Linked DNA regions of Homo sapiens: regions 1, 3, 4 and 5 are each linked to region 2. The links are contacts of gene promoters, found by promoter capture Hi-C in blood cells and fetal thymus (Javierre and others, 2016). All regions are on one chromosome and are shown on one strand. The core of a region is centred on a gene start or on the middle of the fragment in contact, and the rest is flanking DNA. Distances in the headings are between cores, read along the strand shown. Region 1 overlaps BIN2 (bridging integrator 2). Region 2 holds the start of CSRNP2 (cysteine and serine rich nuclear protein 2). Region 3 overlaps SMAGP (small cell adhesion glycoprotein). Region 4 overlaps BIN2 (bridging integrator 2). Region 5 holds the start of BIN2 (bridging integrator 2).

Evidence for each region. The method cuts DNA at HindIII sites, captures the fragments that hold promoters and counts their contacts. A CHiCAGO score of 5 or more calls a contact.
Region 1: a fragment that was not itself captured here is called in contact with the fragment with the promoter of CSRNP2 in region 2 in 1 of 17 cell types (M1 macrophages); the score reaches 5.3 in M1 macrophages.
Region 3: a contact is called between a fragment that was not itself captured here and the fragment with the promoter of CSRNP2 in region 2, in 4 of 17 cell types (megakaryocytes, erythroblasts, M1 macrophages and 1 more). The highest score is 8.6, in megakaryocytes.
Region 4: a contact is called between a fragment that was not itself captured here and the fragment with the promoter of CSRNP2 in region 2, in 3 of 17 cell types (endothelial precursors, megakaryocytes and M1 macrophages). The highest score is 6.5, in endothelial precursors.
Region 5: a contact is called between the fragment with the promoter of BIN2 here and the fragment with the promoter of CSRNP2 in region 2, in 1 of 17 cell types (M2 macrophages). The highest score is 5.3, in M2 macrophages.

The regions. Positions count from the first base shown.
Region 1 is chr12:51,288,971-51,292,679 of GRCh38, forward strand. It overlaps BIN2 (bridging integrator 2), which reads right to left. Exons shown (of 13, transcript NM_016293.4): 10 at 2,621-3,374. Among named protein-coding and RNA genes, the nearest start is that of SMAGP, 20 kb to the left of the region's middle. The HindIII fragment of the contact is 4,839 bases long and covers 1-3,709 here.
Region 2 is chr12:51,081,184-51,084,972 of GRCh38, forward strand. It overlaps CSRNP2 (cysteine and serine rich nuclear protein 2), which reads right to left and starts at 2,413. Exons shown (of 5, transcript NM_030809.3): 1 at 2,156-2,413. RefSeq lists a silencer at 1,975-2,464 and an enhancer at 2,838-3,464. The HindIII fragment of the contact is 4,493 bases long and covers 402-3,789 here.
Region 3 is chr12:51,263,140-51,266,952 of GRCh38, forward strand. The region is part of intron 2 of SMAGP (small cell adhesion glycoprotein); the gene reads right to left. Among named protein-coding and RNA genes, the nearest start is that of SMAGP, 5.4 kb to the right of the region's middle. The HindIII fragment of the contact is 2,416 bases long and covers 1,079-3,494 here.
Region 4 is chr12:51,305,939-51,309,594 of GRCh38, forward strand. The region is part of intron 2 of BIN2 (bridging integrator 2); the gene reads right to left. Among named protein-coding and RNA genes, the nearest start is that of BIN2, 16 kb to the right of the region's middle. The HindIII fragment of the contact is 1,592 bases long and covers 913-2,504 here.
Region 5 is chr12:51,321,714-51,325,564 of GRCh38, forward strand. It overlaps BIN2 (bridging integrator 2), which reads right to left and starts at 2,461. Exons shown (of 13, transcript NM_016293.4): 1 at 2,309-2,461. The coding sequence starts at 2,389. It overlaps LOC105369767 (a long non-coding RNA gene), which reads right to left and starts at 2,295. Exons shown (of 2, transcript XR_944957.3): 1 at 2,015-2,295; 2 at 655-1,490. RefSeq lists an enhancer at 1,987-2,176 and a silencer at 2,207-2,696. The HindIII fragment of the contact is 11,893 bases long and covers 1-3,851 here.

The DNA.
Region 1 (3,709 bases), core at 329-2,828, 210 kb after region 2:
ATCTCCTGACCTCATGATCCGCCCACCTCAGCCTCCCGAAGTGCTGGGATTACAGGCGTGAGCCACTGCGCCCGGCCCTTAGCTCTTAACATCAAGGAAAGAGAACTAATTTTCAAGGCGGCCCATCCCATATTTTTTTTGATCAGCCCCTTGTGTCTCCTTTGCCCTTCCACAATACTTTTTTCCCATCCCATTTAAAAAATTGAGCTAATTGTTGAAAGTTCCTCTTGTATTGTTCCAAAATGTATCTTAAAAAAAAGTCTTTATATGTAGTTTCTGCCTCTGCCCTCTGGAGTGTCACAGAACAAGTCAAATCCCTATATGATAGTCTTTCCATATAATGTGACTAGAATATGACTTGAGGCCGGGCACGGTGGCTCACACCTGTAAGCCCAGCACTTTGGGAGGCGGAGATGGGAGGACCACTGGAGCCCAGGAGTTTGAAACCAGCCTGGGCAACATGGCGAAACCCCATCTCTACCAAAAATACAAAAATGAGGCAGGCATGGTGGCATGCGCCTGTAGTACCAGCTACGTGGGAGGCTAAGGAGGGAAGATCACTGGGGCCCAGAGAGGTCAAGGCTGCAGTGAGTCATGATCATGCCATTGCACTCCAGCCTGGGTGACAGAGTGAGACCCTGTCTCAAAAGAAAGAAAGAAAAAAAAGAGTATGACTTGATTTACAGATCCTTCACAGAACTAGTTGCTCTTCAATGGGTTGGCATCTCTCAATTTTTTTTCAAGACTTAAAAATTTTTTTTTGAGATAGGGTCTCACTCTGGTGCCCAGGCTGGAGTGTAGTAGTGCTCACTGCAGCCTCGACCTCATAAGCTCAAGCAATCCTCCTGTCTCAGCCTCCCAAGTAAGGAGCAGCCTTTTCAAAAGGCTGTCCTTTTTGCTTTACTTCCCTCTGTGAGTTCCTGCTTCTAGGTCTTCTCATCAGAGAAGACACACCCTGGAAATTTGCTGCCATTTTTTTTCAGGGTCTATTTACCATAGTCACAGGTATAATGAACTGAAGTGAGACCCACCCTCCTGCCCCCACTAAAGAAGGTAAAGCTCAGGATTCCAACTATTGGTCCTTTATTTTTTTGAATTTATTATTTATTTATTTATTTATTTTATTTTGTATTAATTTTTTTTTAACTTTTTCTTTTTCTTTTCTTTGAGACACAGTCTCACTCTGTTGCCCAGGCTGGAGTGCAGTGATGTGATGTCGGCTTACTGCAACGTCTGCCTCCTGGGTTCAAGTGATTCTCATGTTCTTGTGCCTCAGGCCTTCCAAGTAGCTGAGACTACAGACACCACCATGCCTGGCTAATTTTTGTATTTTTAATGGAGACAGGGTTTCACCATGTTGGTTGGCCAGGCTGGTCTCGAACTCCTGGCCTCAAGTGATCTGCCTGCCTTGGCCTCCCAAAGTGCTGGAATTACAGGTGTGAGACACGACGCCCGGCTTCAACTAAAGGTTCTTTATACTAGGAACTCCCAGAACTTGGAGGAAAAGAAAGAAATTAGTAAGAATCTGCTCATTAACACTACTAGAGATAAGCCCCTTATAGAAGTCAATTACTGGCTGGGCGAGGTGGCTCACGCCTGTAATCCCAGCACTTTGGGAGGCCGAGGCAGGCGGATCACGAGGTCAGGAGTTCGGCACCAGCCTGCCCAACTTGGAGAAACCAGCTGGGCGAGGTGGCTCACCCCTGTAATCCCAGCACTTTGGGAGGCTGAGGCGGGTAGATCACAAGGTCAGGAGATCGAGACCATCCTGACTAACACAGTGAAACCCCATCTCTACTAAAAATACAAAAAATTAGCCAGGCATGGTGGCCGGCACCCGTAGTCCCAGCTACTCGGGAGGCTGAGGCAGGAAAATGGTGTGAACCCGGGAGGCGGAGCTTGCAGTGAGCAGAGATCGTGCCACTGCACTCCATCCTGGGCGACAGAGCGAGACTCCGTCTCAAAAACAAAACAAAACAAAACAAAAAATAAACATGGAGAAACCCCGTCTCTACTAAAAATACAAAAATTAGCCGGGTGTGGTGGCGTGCACCTGTAATCCCAGCTACTCTGGAGGCTGAGGCAGGAGAATCACTTGAACCCAGGAGGCAGAAGTTGCAGAGAGCCAAGATTGCATGACTGCACCCCAGCCTGGGTGACAGAGCGAGACTCCATCTCAAAAAAGCAAACAAACAAACAAACAAAAAAAAGTCAATTACCCTAAAAGTAGATTACTAAATTAATAGCTATGAAGACATGAAACAATCCCCAAAACCAAAAAAGGTGTCCAAGAGTATTCTGACTATAGTAAAGATACCTACATGGAGGTTATAAAAGGATATAAAGACCCTACCAGAGCCGGGTGCAGTGGCTCACATCTGTAATCTCAGCACTTTGGGAGGCCAAGACAGGAGGATCACTTGAGGCCAGGAATTCAAGACCAGTCTGGGCAACATAAGGAGACCCTATCTCTGTTGGCAGAGGATCACTTGAGCTTGAGAGGTCGAGACTGCAATGAGCTGTGATCGCACCACTACACTCCAGCCTGGACGCCTGAGTGAGACCCTAGCTTAAATAAATAAATTAATTAAATTAAATACCCAACCAGAACTACTCTTACCTGAGATGTCATTAAGGTGGGGGAAGTACAAAGTTCTTCAGGGTTCTGATTGTGGATGTTTTCATTTTCTTTGGCCTCAGGAGTTCTTACTGGCTTCTCTGGTGGTTCTGGATTAGGAGAGACCTCTAGGGAGGTCCTAGGACTTGCAGTCCCAGTCCCCAAGGAGGCCCTAGGGCTGGTGGGTGAACCCCCTCCAGAGGCTGTAGGGCTGGAAGGTATGTTCCCTGAGGAGGGCCTGGGGCTTGCAGTGGCTCTGGGTGGAGGAGGCCTACTAGGGGGTGCTGAGGTCCTCTGGATAGAGGCTCTCTTCTTTGGTTGTTCAGATCCTTCACTTGCGGTGCGGGTTCGGAGGACTACTTCTGTGGCAGATGATGAAGGCTGCCCTGAAGGGCTCAGGGCTCCGCCTGGTGATGGAGTTGTGGAGCTGGGGAGAACTTCCTCCTGGGACTTGGCCCTTTCAGTGGTAGGAGAGGGCTGGGCCTGGGCGGGGCCATTGCAGGCTGGTAGAGGCTCATCTTCCTCAGAGGAGCTTGCTTCAGATCCTTCCTTCTCTATTTCCTCCTCTTCTAAGAGCTCCTTGATCTCAGAATTGTCTTCCCCTTGGGCTGCATCAGGTGCCAGATCTTCAGTTGCTGAGACAGATTCACTCTCACTCTTCAAGGAAAGTGTAGAGGGACTAGTAGGTGAGGTAAGAGGACTGGAGACTGTAGCTGTTCGAACTGGGGGAGAAATGACTAAAGAGCGCCTGCTGCTGCTAAAAAAGGAAGGTGTTCAGATTCAGAACGGCTAAAAACCAGAAGCAATGTAAATATGCAAAACTTACGATGCATGTAATAAAAAAAAGAATAAAGCAATTTAAAATGTTAGAAAGTTTGCATAATTTACAATAACACTTATACAGTGAAATGAAAAAAGGCCAAAATTTTATCTATATCATGAACTCAATTATGTAAAAATATGTACAGAGAAAGAGACTGGAAAGAAACACTGCAAAATGTCGCAAATATTTCCTCTGGGGCAAAGATTAATGGGTGATATACAGTTGAACTACACAGATTTCATATCTGTGAATTACCTACTTATTTATTT
Region 2 (3,789 bases), core at 1,163-3,662:
AGGCTAAGGCGGGAGGATTGCTTGAACCCAGGAGGCAGAGGTTGCAGTGAGCTGAGATTGTGCCACTGCACTCCAGCCTGGGTGACAGAGCCAGACCTGCCTAAAAAAATAAAATAAAATAAATAAAAATAAATTTTTTAAAAAAATAAATCTTTCTTTGCAATAGTAACAGAATAGTTTCCATACTTTCCAATTCATCAAATTAATCTTTCAAACTACAACTAGAAAAATCAGTCATTCCTACCTCTCTCAATTATTCATTGGTAGAGGATCAATGCCTGTGTTCAAGAGATACACTTGTAAGTTTTAGCACCTAGGAATGCAGGTAAAAACCGACAGTTAACTGTCAAAATGACCAACTCAACAAATGCTTTTGGAGAAAATAATGCAACTCTCTTTAAAGCTTTTAAATGCCAGTGAAATGAAAGGTCAGCTGACACTTTCTGGCTACATGTCTAATGGTCTTTTCTCAAGAGTTTCTAGCTGAACATTTTCCAAAGTTATATGAAATAGTTAAGATCCAGAGCACAGAATACATCAGGCTAGCACCTAATAAACAGTTCCACCAGAATATGTATATTTTAGTACTAGATCTAAGTTTTTTTCAGGCCTAAAAGGATTCCTATAACCACCAAAACAAACAAACAAACAAACAACAACAACAACAAAAAAAAACAGCATATGTGAGAGCAGCAAGAGGGACTGCCCAGGCAAAATTTTCTGGAAGAATCTATTTGCAAAGTTTAGGTAATATAAGTCTCTTTCTTAAATGAGTCCAAAGTAATAAGCTACATCTCACAGGAGAAAGCCTCTTCACTTGACTGGAACCCAACCTTCTGCTAAAGGTCAAGGAATCAAAACCTCCAGTAAGATGGTCAGGGCTACCATCTGTAGCTGGGTTGGAAGGAAGGCTTGCTGCTGTGTTACCATAAACCTGAATAAAATGACCTGCCCTGTTTCTCCTTTTACAAGATACTGTGGTTGTTTCTCATATACCATGAATTTCATGGATCCATGTGTCTTTGTGATCACCAGGATCATGAACTTACAAAGCACCCAAGTGAAAACCCCCCGCTTAAGTTAGGTGTTTAAAGAAAGCCGTGCACTCACCACCCCCACTCCCCGATTTTTACCCATTCACTAACACAAGGTTAGAATTTTCCATGCCTAAACTACCATCGTGTGGAAGACAGATCTTTGTGGGAACTGGAACATGATGCTGCATTAACTCTCAAGGATATCCAGTCATTTATAACACCGGCACAACCAACATCCTGGCTTTGTGGATTTGCAAGACAGAAAGCCAGTGAAGAAAAAAATCTGAACTATGAATTTACCTTGAACTGAAAACTGCAGGACAAGGGGACAGTGTTGTCTTGTGGGGATAACTTCTAGCATTTCATTCTGAAGAACAGTTTGTGTGTCACACTGCCACTCTCAACCCCTTTAAAAGGATGAATCAAGACCACAGCACTAAAAGGGACGGGTGGCAGTTGGCTGCGTAATTGGGCCTATGAAAAAAGATCAAGCTAGCAACCAGGGCAATTGATGCTTTCATTTTCCCACACGACGCCAGAAATATGGGAGACATCAGGAACCGGAGCGAAGGGACATGTCAAGTCACCAGTTCCTTTTAATGAACACTCCTGCCGAACCCTTCAGCTCTCGGCCCACTTCCCTCTGATTCCTGCTAACCTTCCCGCTCATTCCAATCCTCTGCAGCCCCTACCCAGCCTTCCGCATCCCTTCCTGCCTGCTACTCACAAATTCCCAACCACTCCTCCCACATTTTCCTCTGTTCCCCCTCCCCTTCCTTCACTTTCCTCCATCCTACATCATTCTCCACTCCATTCCGAACTCAATCCTCATCTGCAATCCTGCAGGCTTCCAAGCCGCCCATCGGTCTCCCGCGAGCTGCCCCCGCAGTCCGGGCCAGCGTCCTCGGTGCCCCTCGCTCCCACGCCTCTTCCCGACTCGGTTCCTTCCCAACGGCACCCGACCTCCCCGCCCCCCGACCGCTCCCGTCCGAGCCTCTCATTTCTGACCCCTCCATCCGCACGGCTCTGGGCTTGACCACTCCTCCACGGCCGCCCGAGGGCCGATCCCGAGAAAGGACGAGGCGGCACCCTCCGCCCCGCACCCCTAGGCCCATTACCGGCCCCGCCGCAGCTGCCTCCTCCCGTGATGGTCTCTGCCGCCCCCGCTGCCGCCGCCGCCCTAGCCCGGTGGGAAGGAGGGAGGAGCGAGCGAGTCCCGGGCCCCGCGGCGACGGCCGGGGAGCTCCCAGGGCGGCAGGGCGGGGAGGGAGGGCGGTGGGCAGCCCAGCCGGCAGGCAGAGAGGGCCGGGCGTCTCCGGCAACTCGGGCGCCCCCGGCAGCAGACGCCCAGAACCGCCCCGGCTCCGGCTAACAATAGGATCCGGCCGCAGCGCACTGGCTCTTATAGGCGCCGGCACGTCCTGACCGAGACCCGGGGCTGGCTGGGAAATGGAGTCTACGGGCCGGCCCACACCCAGCAGCATGCCGGGAGTTGTAGGCGGTAACTGCTGCAAAGCCGAAGCCGGCGCGCAAACCGGCTCCCGAGGCGGCAGCTCTGCTGCAACCTTTTAATGGGGGAAGAGAGGAGACTCAGCTACAGATCTTAAATAAACGAATTCTCCTCCAAAGCTCCCTTTTTCTTTCGTGTCCTGACCACACGCCATTAGGAACATGATCCCCCCTTCTCCTCGCTCATGGGGTCTTAGTCTTCAGCAATATGACTTATTGCAGCCTGCGCAGGTTATAAAGAATACAAGCAATATCTTGAGTTATCTACTTATATGAGGGAGTGCTTTGAGTGTTTTCTTTAAAAAAAAAAAAATTGCTGCCGGGCGCGGTGGCTCACGCCTGTAATCCCAGCACTTTGGGAGGCCGAGGTGGGCGGATCACGAGGTCAGGAGATCGAGACCAACCTGGCTAACAAGGTGAAACCCCGTCTCTACTAAAAAATACAAAAATTAGCCGGGCGTGGTGGCGGGCGCCTGTAGTCCCAGCTACTCGGGAGGCTGAGGCAGGAGAATGGCGTGAACCCGGGAGGCGGAGCTTGCAGTGAGCCGAGATCGCGCCACTGCACTGCAGACTGGGCGAAAGAGCGAGACTCCGTCTCAAAAAAAAAAAAAAAAAAATCTTCTCAACTTTGCAAACTAATTTATTTATTTAAATAGAAAAGGGGTTTTCGCCATGTTGCCCCGGCTGGTCTTGCACTCCTGGGCCCAGGCGATCCGCCCGCCTCGGCCTCCCAAAGTGCTGGGATTATACGCATGAGCCACCGCGCCCTTCCGCAACCTATTTTTAAGAAAGGGCGCCAGGCGCGGTGGCTCATGCCTGTAATCCCAGCACTTTGGGAGGCCGAGGCGGGCGGGTCATGAGGTCAGGAGTTCGAGACCAGCCTGACCAACATGGTGAAACCCTGTCTCTACTAAAAATACAAAAATTAGCCGAGGGTGGTAGCACGTGCCTTTAATCCCAGCTCCTCGGGAGGCCGACCCAGGAGAATGGCTTGAACCCGGGAGGCGGAGGTTGCAGTGAGCCAAGACTGCACCATTGCCCTCCAGCACGGTCAACAAGAGCGAAACTCCGTCTCAAAAAAAAAAAGAAAAAGAAAAAGAAAAAAAAGGGGAAAACCAAGATTAAGAAGTCAAAAGTTGTATGTGATTTGCCAAGGACACATAGCCTTGGTTTCTTCTTTGTTGTCTTTCCCTTGAACTATAAGGCTCGGCAAGCTCGAGCTGCATTCTCTTGTCCCCCGACC
Region 3 (3,813 bases), core at 1,037-3,536, 180 kb after region 2:
TGGGAGGTCGGGGTGAGTGAATCACTTGAGATCAGAAGTTCGAGACCAGTCTGGCCAACATGGTGAAACCCTGTCTCTACTAAAAATACAAAAATTAGCTGGGCATAGTGGTGGGCGCCTATAGTCCCAGCTACTCGGGAGGCTGAGGCAGGAAAATTGCTTGAACCCGGGAGGCAGAGGTTGCAGTTAGCCGAGATTGCACCACTACACTCCAGCCTGGGTGACAAGTGGGAAATTCCATCTCAAAAAAAAAAAAAGAAAAGAAAATTCCTTAACTCCCCTGAACTTCAGTTTTTCCTTCCGTAAAATGAGACTAAAACTTGTTTCATTGGGTTGTGGTGAGGAATAAGTGCAATGAAAAATGCTGCTTTGGGAGGCTGAGATGGGAGGATCACCTGAGGCCAGGAGTTTGAGACCAGACTGGGCAACACAGTAAGACCTTATTTCTACAAAAAATTATTTTTAAAATAAAATAAAGAAAAATGCTAAGTGTCTAATACAGGGTGAGGACAACCTAGGCGGTAGCTGGTGTGATCATTTGGTGGCAAGAGATGAGCTTTACCTGGCACGGTGGGCAAAGCCCACAAGGCACAGTTCCACTCTGCCCTACTTCGAATAGGGCTGACTTATGCACTAGGCACAACAGGCACAGTGCCCTGGGCCCACAATGCTTCGAAAGGCCCATGAAAATGTTTTAAATAATTTTCATTTCTTTTATAATTAGAAGAAGGAAAAGAAACAAAATTTTAGGTCAAAGAAATATTAAGGTTGTTATGCCATTCAATTACTAATTATAAATATTAATTATATTATATTATATTCTTCCTTACACTGATGCAGTTGTAAAATATGATTTTTAATATTTTTTTAAGTGAAGGAGGAGCCCACAAAGACAGAAGTGCCCAGGGCTCAGGAGTCATAATGTGGCCCTTCCTTTCAAGGTTCCTGGAGGATATCTTCTCTAGGAAGTCTTTATAGACTGTGAGGGAGGAATAGGTGGGAAGGTGGGGGAAGAGAAATGCAAGACAGGGGTAGAAGAGAAGAGCTGGCCTTTAGTGATCCCATCATTTAAAGTATAAGCTTTCTTCCTATCTGTGATTTCTATTCTTTTGTCTATTGCTGTCTCTGAACTTACACTTGCTTGGACCCAGTGGATAGGAGACTGTCCTAAATCACTACTTCACTCATGTCACTCGCTGGATCAAGAATGCAGCCAGGTGAGGTGGCTTGCGCCTATAATCTCAACAACTCAGGGGCAGAGGAAGGAGCATGGCTTCAGGCCGGGAGAGTTGCCTGAGCAACATAGCAAAACCCTATCTCTACAAAAAATTTTAAAATTAGCTGGGCGTGATGGTGCACGCCTGCAGTCCCAGCTGCTCAGGAGTCTGAGGTGGGAGGATCCCTCAAGCCCAGATGTTTGGGTCTGTAGTGAGCCAGGATTGTGCCACTGCACTCCAGCCTGGGCAACAGAGTAAGATCCCATCTCTTAAAAAAAAAAAAAAAAAAAAAAGGTCAGGCACAGTGGCTCATGCCTGTAATCCTAGTACTTTGGGAGGCCAAGGCAGGCGGATTGCCTGAGCTCAGGAGTTTGAGACCAGCCTGGGCAACATGGTGAAACCCCGTCTCTACTAAAATACAAAAAATTAGCCGGGTGTGGCAGCGTGTGCCTGTAATCCCAGCTACTCAGGAGGTTGAGGCAGGAGAATTGCTTGAACCCGGGAGGTGGAGGTTGCAGTGAGCCGAGATGGTGCCACTGCAATCCAGCCTGGGTGACAGAGCAAGACTCCATCGCCAGAAAAAAAAAAAAAAAAAGAGAAAGAGAGAGAGGACTGATTCAACGATCAATTTTTTAAAAAAAATTTTTAAAGGATATAAATATACAACTGAACAAGAACAAAACAAATCAACTAAAAAATGGGACAAGACTTGAATAGACATTTCTCCAAAGATATACAAATGGTCAATAAGTACATGAAAAGATGCTCCACATCACTATCACTAGGGAAATGCAAATCAAAACCACAATGAGATACCACTTCACACACAATATGATGACTACCATTAAACAGAAAGTAACAAGTGTTGGCAAGGTTGTAGAGAAACTGAAACCTTTATGCATTGCTGGTAGGAATATAAAATGGTGCAGCTGCTGTGCAAACCTATATGGTGGATCCTCAAAAAAATCAAACACAGAATTACCACATGATATAGCAATTCCACTTCTGAGCATACATCCCAAACAACTGAAAGCAGGGTCTCAAGAAGATATTTGTACACCCATGTTTATGGCAGCATCAGTCACAATAGCCAAAAGGTGGAAGCAACTCAACTGTCCATCATAGATGAATGGATAAACAAAATGTAATATACACATACAACAATATTATTCAGCCTTGAAAAAGTAGGAAATTGTGACATGCTACAATATGGATGAACTTTGAGAATATTATGCTAAGTGAAGTTAGCCAGACACAAAAGGTCTATTGTATGATTCTACTTACATGAAGTACCTAGAGCAGTCAAATTTACATAGACAGAAAATAGAACGGTGTTTGCAGGGAAATGGGGAATCAGTGTTTAATGGGTGTCAAGTTTCGGTTTGGGAAGGTAAAGTTCTGGAGATGGATGGTGGTGAGGAACATGAATTACTTAATACAGTAGTCCCCCCAGGCCAGGCACTGGCCTGTAATCCCAGCACTTTGGGAGGCCGAGGTGGGCGGATCACGAGGTCAGGAGATCAAGACCATCCTGGCTAACACGGTGAAACCCCGTCTCTACTAAAAATACAAAAAATTAGCCGGGCGTGGTGGTGGGCGCCTGTAGTCCCAGCTACTCGGGAAGCTAAGACAGGAGAATGGCGTGAACCCATGAGGCGGAGCTTGCAGTGAGCTGAGATGGCGCTACTGCACTCCAGCCTGGGTGACAGAGCGAGACTCCGTCTCAAAAAAAAAAAACAACAGTAGTCCCCTCTTATCTGCGGTTTTGCTTTCCTAGGTTTCAGTTACCCGTGGTCAACTGCAGTCCGAAAACATTAAATAGAAATTTAACAGAAAAAGAAAATTCCAGAAAGGAACAATTCATACATTTTAAATTATGTACCGTTCTGAGTAGCGTGATGAAATCTCACACCCTGCTCCATCCTGCCTGGAAAGTGAATCATCCTTTTGTGTCCATGCTATAAACGCTTAGTAGAGTACCACAGCGCTTGTGTTCAAGTAACCCTTATTTTACATGACAGTGGCCCCAAAGCACAAGAATAGTGATGCAATTTGGACATGCCAACAAGAAGTGCTTCCTTTAAGTGAAAAGGTGAAAGTTCTTGACTTAAGAAAAAAAAAAAAAGAACTGTGTACTGAGGTTTCTAAGATCTATAGTAAATAAGACATTTTAAGTGAGAGAGACCATTTTCACATAACTCTTATTACAGTATATTGTTATAGTTGTTCTATTTTATTATTATTGTTAATCTCTTACTGTGCCTAATTTACAAGTTAAGCTTTATCATAAGTATGTATGTACAGGAAAAAACACAGTATAGATGGGGTTCAGTACTATCTGAGATTTCAGGCATCCACTGGGGTTTTTGGAATGAATCCCCTGTGGATAAGCGGGGACTACTCTACCACTGAATTGTCTGCGAAAAAATGGCTAAAATGGTAATACCTGTACTATGTTTATTTTACCATAAATTTTAAAAAAGAAAAAATGGCATGAGCCTGTAATCCCAGCACTTTGGGAGGCCGAGAAGGGCAGATCACTTGAGGCCAGGAGTTTGAGACCAGCCTGGCCAACATGGCGAAACCCTGTCTCCAC
Region 4 (3,656 bases), core at 459-2,958, 220 kb after region 2:
CAATTCTCCTGCCTCAGCCTCCTGCATAGCTAGGACTACAGGTGTGTGCCACCACGCCTGGCTAATTTTTTGTATTTTTAGTAGAGACAGGGTTTCACTGTGTTAGCCAGGATGGTCTCGATCTCCTGGCCTCGTGATCTGCCCACCTCGGCCTCCCAAAGTGCTGGGATTACAGGTGTGAGCCACTGTGCTGGGTCTCAGAGCTCACTTCTAAGCTAGTCCAAACTTTTGATCAAACTTCAGATCAAAAGTCCCTCTCAAGGGGCTGAATGTCAGTTTGAAGGGACATGAGGACACAGTCTTAAAGGAGTGAAAGGCACTGTCAGACAGGTACAGAACTGTGATTGTGTGCTGTGTTACAGCAAATGAGGATTAAGAGAACATCATATAAACAATCAAGGAAGTAGGCCAGGCGAGGTAGCTCAAATCTGTAATCCTAGCATTTTGGGAGGTTGAGGTAGGCAGATCACTTGAGGTCAGGAGTTCAAGACCAGCCTGGCCAACATGGTGAAAGTCCGTCTCCACTAAAGATACAAAAATTAGCCAGGTGTGGTGGTGGGTGCCAGTAATCCCAACTACTCGGGAGGCTGAGGCAGGAGAATCACTTGCACCCGGAAGGTGGAGGCTGCAGTGAGCTGCAATTGCGCCATTGCACTGCAGCCTGGGCGACACAGCAGACTCTGTCTAAAAATCAAAACCAATCAAGGAAGTGTCAGATGCTACAGAGACGTTAGAATGCAGGAAGAATTGGTAAAATTCACTGGATTTGGTAATGGGTCACTGGTGACCATGAGAAAGCACTTTCAATAGCATATTGGAGACAGATTCAGTCAGTTAACAAAATTCAGAAACACTCAGCATCTACCAGAAAGGATATCTCACTTCCTCCTTGCTTTTTCATTTATAGAAAAAAGCTTAGATAGCCTAACATGTTAAATGTATACAACATCTTTTAAATGTGGATAAGGGAGGTAGGTAGAGGTTTGAGAATTTTGAAAAGGTGATAATCAAGATTTTAAAGAGCCTTGAAAAAGTTTTGGGGATTATAAAAATGAACAAGGCTTGGCCGGGCACAGTGATGCACGCCTGTAATCCTAGCACTTTGGGAGGCCGAGGCGGGCAGATTGTGAGGTCAAGAGATCGAGACCAGACTGGCCAACATGGTGAAACCCTGTCTCTACTAAAAACACAAAAATTAGCTGGGTGTGGTGGCACACGCCTGTAATACCAGCTACTTGGGAGGCTGAGGCAGGAGAATGGCTTGAACCCGGGAGGTGGAGGTTACAGTGAGCTGAGATCGCGACACCGTACTCTAGCCTGGGCGACAGAGTGAGACTCTGACTCAAAAAAAAAAAAAAAAAATTAACAAGACTTTTAAATTCTTTCTTGAAGGAGAAAAAAGGACTCAATTTTTTACTTCACCATGAAAATTTTATTTCAAAAATAAATACAATAAAGTAATAAAAACTGTTAAATTACCTTGCACAGGCTGGGAGCGGTGGCTCACCCACTATAATCCCACCACTTTGGGAGGCCGAGGCAGGTAGATCACCTGAGGTCAGGAGTTCAAGACCAGCCTGGCCAACATGGTGAAACCCCATCTCTACTAAAAATACAAAAATTAGCTGGGTGTGGTAGTATACGCCTGTAATCCCAGCTACTTAGGAGGCTGAGGCAGGAGAATCGCTTGAACCCGGGGGCACAGAGGTTGCAGTGAGCTGGGATTACACCACTGCACTCCAACCTGGGCGACAAGAGAGAAACTCCGTCTCAAAAAAAAAAAAAATTACCTTGCACAATTTGTACAAATAAAGTTCCTAATTTTTTCCCATTAGTTATCATATAACCTGAAAAATCAGATGAGTAATCAAGGCTACCATGCATAAATGCACAGTGTTGAAAACTAGGGGGTACTCTATCACAGCCCAGAAAATGAATGCCTTCTGCTTTCCACTGCAGCTCACAAAAGCCCCGCTCCATTTCTGTGTTTTAGAATGAAGCCTTTTAGTTACAAAGTTCTCCTTTATGCTCTTGCTCTTTCTTTTGCGAAGATGAAGTATGAGTGTGAGAGTGAGTGTGTGTGTGTGTTGGTGGGGGTAGTGGTATGGAGTGGGGAAGGAGAGAGAAGACAGGTCAGCAACAGGTATCATTTTCTTTCTCTGACCTATCTGTCCCCCCCTGGAATATATCCAGGCTGAATAATCCCAACATCTTTCTCCTTTCCTGACAGATGTGACTCTCATAGTCTTGGGTTCTCGCTTGTCTGGGAGTCAAGAAACTTGACTTTACCACCAACTAGCAAGTTACTCCACTTCTCTGCCTTCCATTTCTTCATCTATAAATGCAGGGTAAGCCAGTTCTAGCTCTAAATCTTATGACTTTATCACTTCTGCTCTCTGAATCCTTGCCGAATTCTTGGCATTGCCATAAAGAGTCTGAGTCAGTCCTTCCCACCCATTATACAAACAGTCCCAACCCTCAGTTAATGAACCACTCACACCAGAAGCTTGTCCTGAGCAGTCAGGAGGACAGAGCTAGGTCTTAAGAGACTGGGGTACTGAGGATGGAGAAAGTTCTTGTCCTGGGGTTCCCTACTTTCTGGAGAAAAATTGGCTCAGACACTCAGCAAAACAAGTGTAAATAGCATGCCCAAGTGTTGAAGTGATCAAGTGTTGAAAGTGCTTGGTTTAATGTAGATCTAGGAGGGAAATACGAAGCTAGATTATTAGATTTGAGTTTAAAGGTAATGAATTGGAAGCAGCTGTCACTACCAAAAATAACAGGTTAAAGTGTTGCTTGAGGAAAATAATCCTTCCTATGTAATACACTGAAGAGAAGGAAAAGCAGGAAGCAAGTAGAGCCTCAGAGAAAAATTACCTATAGAAGAAATGTGATCAGGGCTGGGTGCAGTGGCTCATGCCTGTAATCCGAGCACTTTGGGAAGCCGAGGTGGGTAGATCACTTGAGGTCAGGAGTTTGAGACCAGCCTGGCCAACATGGTGAAACCCCGTCTCTACTAAAAATACAAAACAACAACAAAAACAAAAAAGAAAAGAAATGTGATCAGGAATGTGGGCGAATGGCAAGACTTTGAAATCAGGCTAGGAAGTTTGGTATTGATAGGATAAGCTATTAATAAAAAGTTTACCTGCAAGCTGACTGTGGGTGAGGGATAGGGCACATGACCAACCCGTTCAACTTCTGGAACACTTCACTCACACCTGTAATCCCAGCACTCAAGGAGTCAGAGGCAGGAGGATTGCTTGAGCCTAGGAGTTTGAGACCAGCCTGGGCAACATAGTGAGACCTCGTCTTCACAAAAAGAAAAAAAATCCTTGACCTTGTCCTTTTTCCTCCTGTGTGTCTTTGCCACCCCAGGTCCCCAGGTCAGACGTGACTGTATTGTCACTGTCTTCCTCCATAAACTAAGAGCCTTGAGGGCAGGCAGGTTGTCTCATTCATGCTGAAGTCCCAGCACCAAACACAGTTCCTGGCACACAGCAGGTGCTCATAAAATGTTTGTTAAATGTATTTACCAAAAAGAGAATTTCAAAAGCATGTTCAATCAGCACTTATTATAGGTGTATCATTCTCTCAGTCAAGAAGTTTTTCCTTATTTTTTTTTTTAATAGAGACAAGGTCTCACTATGTTGCCC
Region 5 (3,851 bases), core at 1,211-3,710, 240 kb after region 2:
ATATCCCTGTCTCTGGTCCATAATAGGCGCTTGATATTTGACACATTTCACTATTTGACACATTAGCTATTACTTATTACTCAGAAGATTACATCCAACTGCTTGCAGAAAAAGCAAAAAGTGTTGCAAGGAATTCTTTCATTTTAGTGCAAATTTCTCCCTCTTTATCTTGGTCTCAATAACTTCCCAAGACTCAAGGACTGGCTTCAGGCTGACGGAGCTGAGCTCCCTTCCGGCATCCCAGGCCATTCCCACCTTATCGAAGTTCAACCTTTGCCTACCCTTTTGTCTAGTCTAGGTTCAGAATATCTTGTTTTCTTCATCAGCTGGGAATTCCTCATGGCAGATTTGAGTTTGCTCCTCTTTCTCTACTTCCTCAGGGTTCAGGCCAGAAGAACCTGAGAGACTGGTTCTGTCTTTGGGAAGTATTTGACTCTGAGTCTAATGTGACAGCTTTTCAATTTAGTGTTCTTACCATATTGAGTTTCATCAAGAACATCAACCCTCTCATTTTACAGGTGCAAGATCTGAAGCCCAGAGCAGGACATTATTTAGCCAAGGTTTGGAGTCTATGCTTACAAAGGAGTGAAAGCCCAAAGCAAGGTTTTAGTGTTGACGAGAGGCTAGATGAAGACAGAAGATGCAAGAGTGAAATACAATCAATTGTATGTCTTTTATTTTTATGTATTTATTTTTATTTTTTGAGACAGAGTCTCCCTCTGCTTGAGTGTGGTGTGGTGTGATCACTGCTCACTGCAGTCTTGATCTCCTGGGCTCAAGCAGTCCTCCCACCTTGGCCTCCCAAAGTGCTGGGATTACAGGAGTGAGCCACTGTGCCTGGCTGGTATGTCTTTTTAAAATTACTATCATTCATGAGTGTTTTGTCTTTTAGGGTTTTTTTTTTTTTCAACCACAGTGTGGCCTTCTCTCCAGTACCTCCTGCTCGCCCACACTGTTTCGAGCTAGACCTTCCCATAGGCCCTGCTCTCGGGTCTACCAGATTTGTAAGTCTTCAGAGAGGCTGAAACTAGGATCAAGGTGAAGTTAGGGTAAGTGAAGTAACGAAGTCTGGCTACACGAACTCTTTCCCTTTTCCTCCTCTCTTTCACATGACCTCAAATGATAGAAAATAACCTCCCTTCCATTGTGGTCTCTTAAAGTCAGGAGCTACATCTACATTCCATCAGTTTTCTGCTGATAAATCAACTCGGGAGAGCTGGTTGCCTTTAAGCCTTCCCAGGGCTCAAAGCAGTGCTCCACTTTTAGAAGATAATAGGGATATTTCAGTTGGTAAGCAGAGCTGTTCATCCAAATGCTTCTAAGTCCATCAGCTCTTAGAAAACCAAAACTTCTCCGTTGTAGAAGGCAGGTTGGGCTTAATAAAGAGAGAGAGAAAAAAAGGAAAACCGAAACTCTATCTCAGGTCCTTCTTGTCTTTCTTCCCTCGCTCTTTCTTCTGGCTGACATGTCTTCCCAAACCGCCTTGTCTACTAGAGGGTTGGTAGGTGGAGAGCAGAGGCTCAGGTTAGAAGCAAAGAAAATATTCTGTACAGGTAGAAACAAAAATGCCATCAAAATGTGTAGAGAATGTCCCCACAATTTAGATTGCCAAGCAAGTAATAGATGGGCAGCCCACCTAAGTGCCAGTGCTGGAGCAGGGCTACCTGACACTAACCAAGGACACACTCTGAACACAGATGTGGTTCATCACCCTGGGAGGTGTACTCCCCAACGCCAAAGGGAGGGTAGAAGAAGCAGATTTGGGCTCCTGCTTACGTCAGCTGAAACACCACCCAGAGGCCAGGCAGGGTCAGGTAGGGGGAGAACTATGCAGGATTATTCTAAGCCTTTGGTGGGGGGTGCCTGCTGGCATCCGCTGCATCGCTGTTTTTGGGGAAATTGCCCTCTATGGAAAATTACCCTCCAATTTCATCATCTGTAAAATACCAATTTTGGATTGCTAGCACAAAATTTGATACAAAGGTGGCCACCACCATCACTTCCTTTCTTTCACCTTTTCTGGGTCAGCCTGAGGGTTGTCGAAGGTTCTGCCCAGAGACTGTTGTCTCCCCAGCTTCCCTTATCCTTGCCCAAGATCGGGTGGCGGTCTCCGACCTCTCTCCAATCTGCCAGTTTTCATGGAAGCCCACTCCTCGCTCCCGTTTCCCTGGGAGAGCGGGAGACCCTTCTCGTCAGCCCAGACCCTTCGGGGCCCCTGAGCACCCTGCCCGCCCCTCCTGCCCGGCCGGGCTCGGCCTCGGCCTCGGCTCCCTGTGGGCCAGACAGACAGCGAGGCCCGGCCACCTACCTTCTCCTGGGCCCTGCTAAACTTCTTCTGCACCTGCTTGGCGAAGAGGCCGGCCGCGCCGCCTGCCTTGCCCTCTGCCATCCTGCCAACTCCCTGGGGGCCGCCGCCCTGGCCCCGCGCCCTGTGGTTTTCTGAGGCCCCCGAGGAGGAAGTGCGGGCTCCCGGCATGCCTCGCATCCGGCCCCAGCCCTGAGCCACCTCAGGCCGCCCCTGGCCAGCCCTGAGGCCCGCCCCTCAGCCCACCACTGTCAGCTGGAGCAGGCCGGCTCGGAGGGGCGGGCCCGGGGCCTACCCTCAGGCAGCGCTCGCTCGAGGCCAGCTTCCGAGCTCCAACCCCTGCCCGAAACCTCGGCCTCACTGAACCAGGTCCTCAGTGGTGGGCCCACACTCACTCGCTCCGGAAAGCCAGTTCCCATCACGCTGAGCACTGCAAAGCAACTGCCACCGCAGGGTAGAAAATGATGTGGGTTCCACTCAGCGAGAGGACCTACCATATCGAAAACACGTTTAGGTTCTCTGAGTATGCATGCGAAGCCGCCATGTACACTGCGTTTCTTGCTCCAGGTAGGCTCTAAGCCTGGAACTGGTAGGGATAGAGTGCAGAAAGCAGGCAGGACACCCGAGCCGGGCTTGAAAGAGAGAAACAGGCCGGGCGCGGTGGCTCACGCCTGTAATCCTAGCACTTTGGGAGGCCGAGGCGGGTGGATCGCCTGAGGTTAGGAGATCAGCCTGACCAATACGGTGAAACCGCGTCGCTACTAAAAATACAAAAATTAGCTGGGTGTGGTGGCGCACGCCTGCAGTCCCAGCTACTCGAGAGGATGACGCAGGAGAATTGTTTGAACCCGGGAGGCAGAGGTTGCAGTGAGCCGAAATCGCGCCACTGCATTCCAGCCTGGGCGACAGAGCGACAGTTCGTCTCAAATAAATAAATAAATAAATAAATAAATAAATAAATAAATGAGGAACAACTAAGCTGGAGATAGAAACAGGGTAGGGGGCTGGTTCTTAGGCAAGAGAATGATCACATTGAAAAAAGGCTGAGGAGGATAGTATGGACGCCCGTGCTGAGCATGAGGAGCAAGTTTTTCTAGTTGGAGTACAGTGTACTGGATGGAGGCAGAATGTGAACACAGACACAGATTGTGCAAATTGGGGTGCGGCTGTTGAGATGACAACTATTGTTTCTTTAGGGAGAAGTTCTCCAAAAAATTCCTCCCTGACCTGTTTGAGGGGATAGCTTGAGATTAGGACACTAGGTGTGGAGGAACCACGTACTCAGATTTTACAGTGCAGGTTAAAATTTCCTCAAGGCAGGGAAGAAGGTCAAAATAACACTTCCTAAGGAGTGGAGGGGGAAGATAGGGCCTGACACAAAATTAGAGGCCCTTGTATGCTACTGTGTTCCTCTTCTTTCTCCAAAACAATCATTACTGCACTCAAGGTCAACTGTGTACCAGGCATTGCTGGGTGTTCTGAAACAAGGATGAATAAAATGCAGTCCCTGACCTTAAGATGCTTAATGAAGTCTGGCCGGGCACCA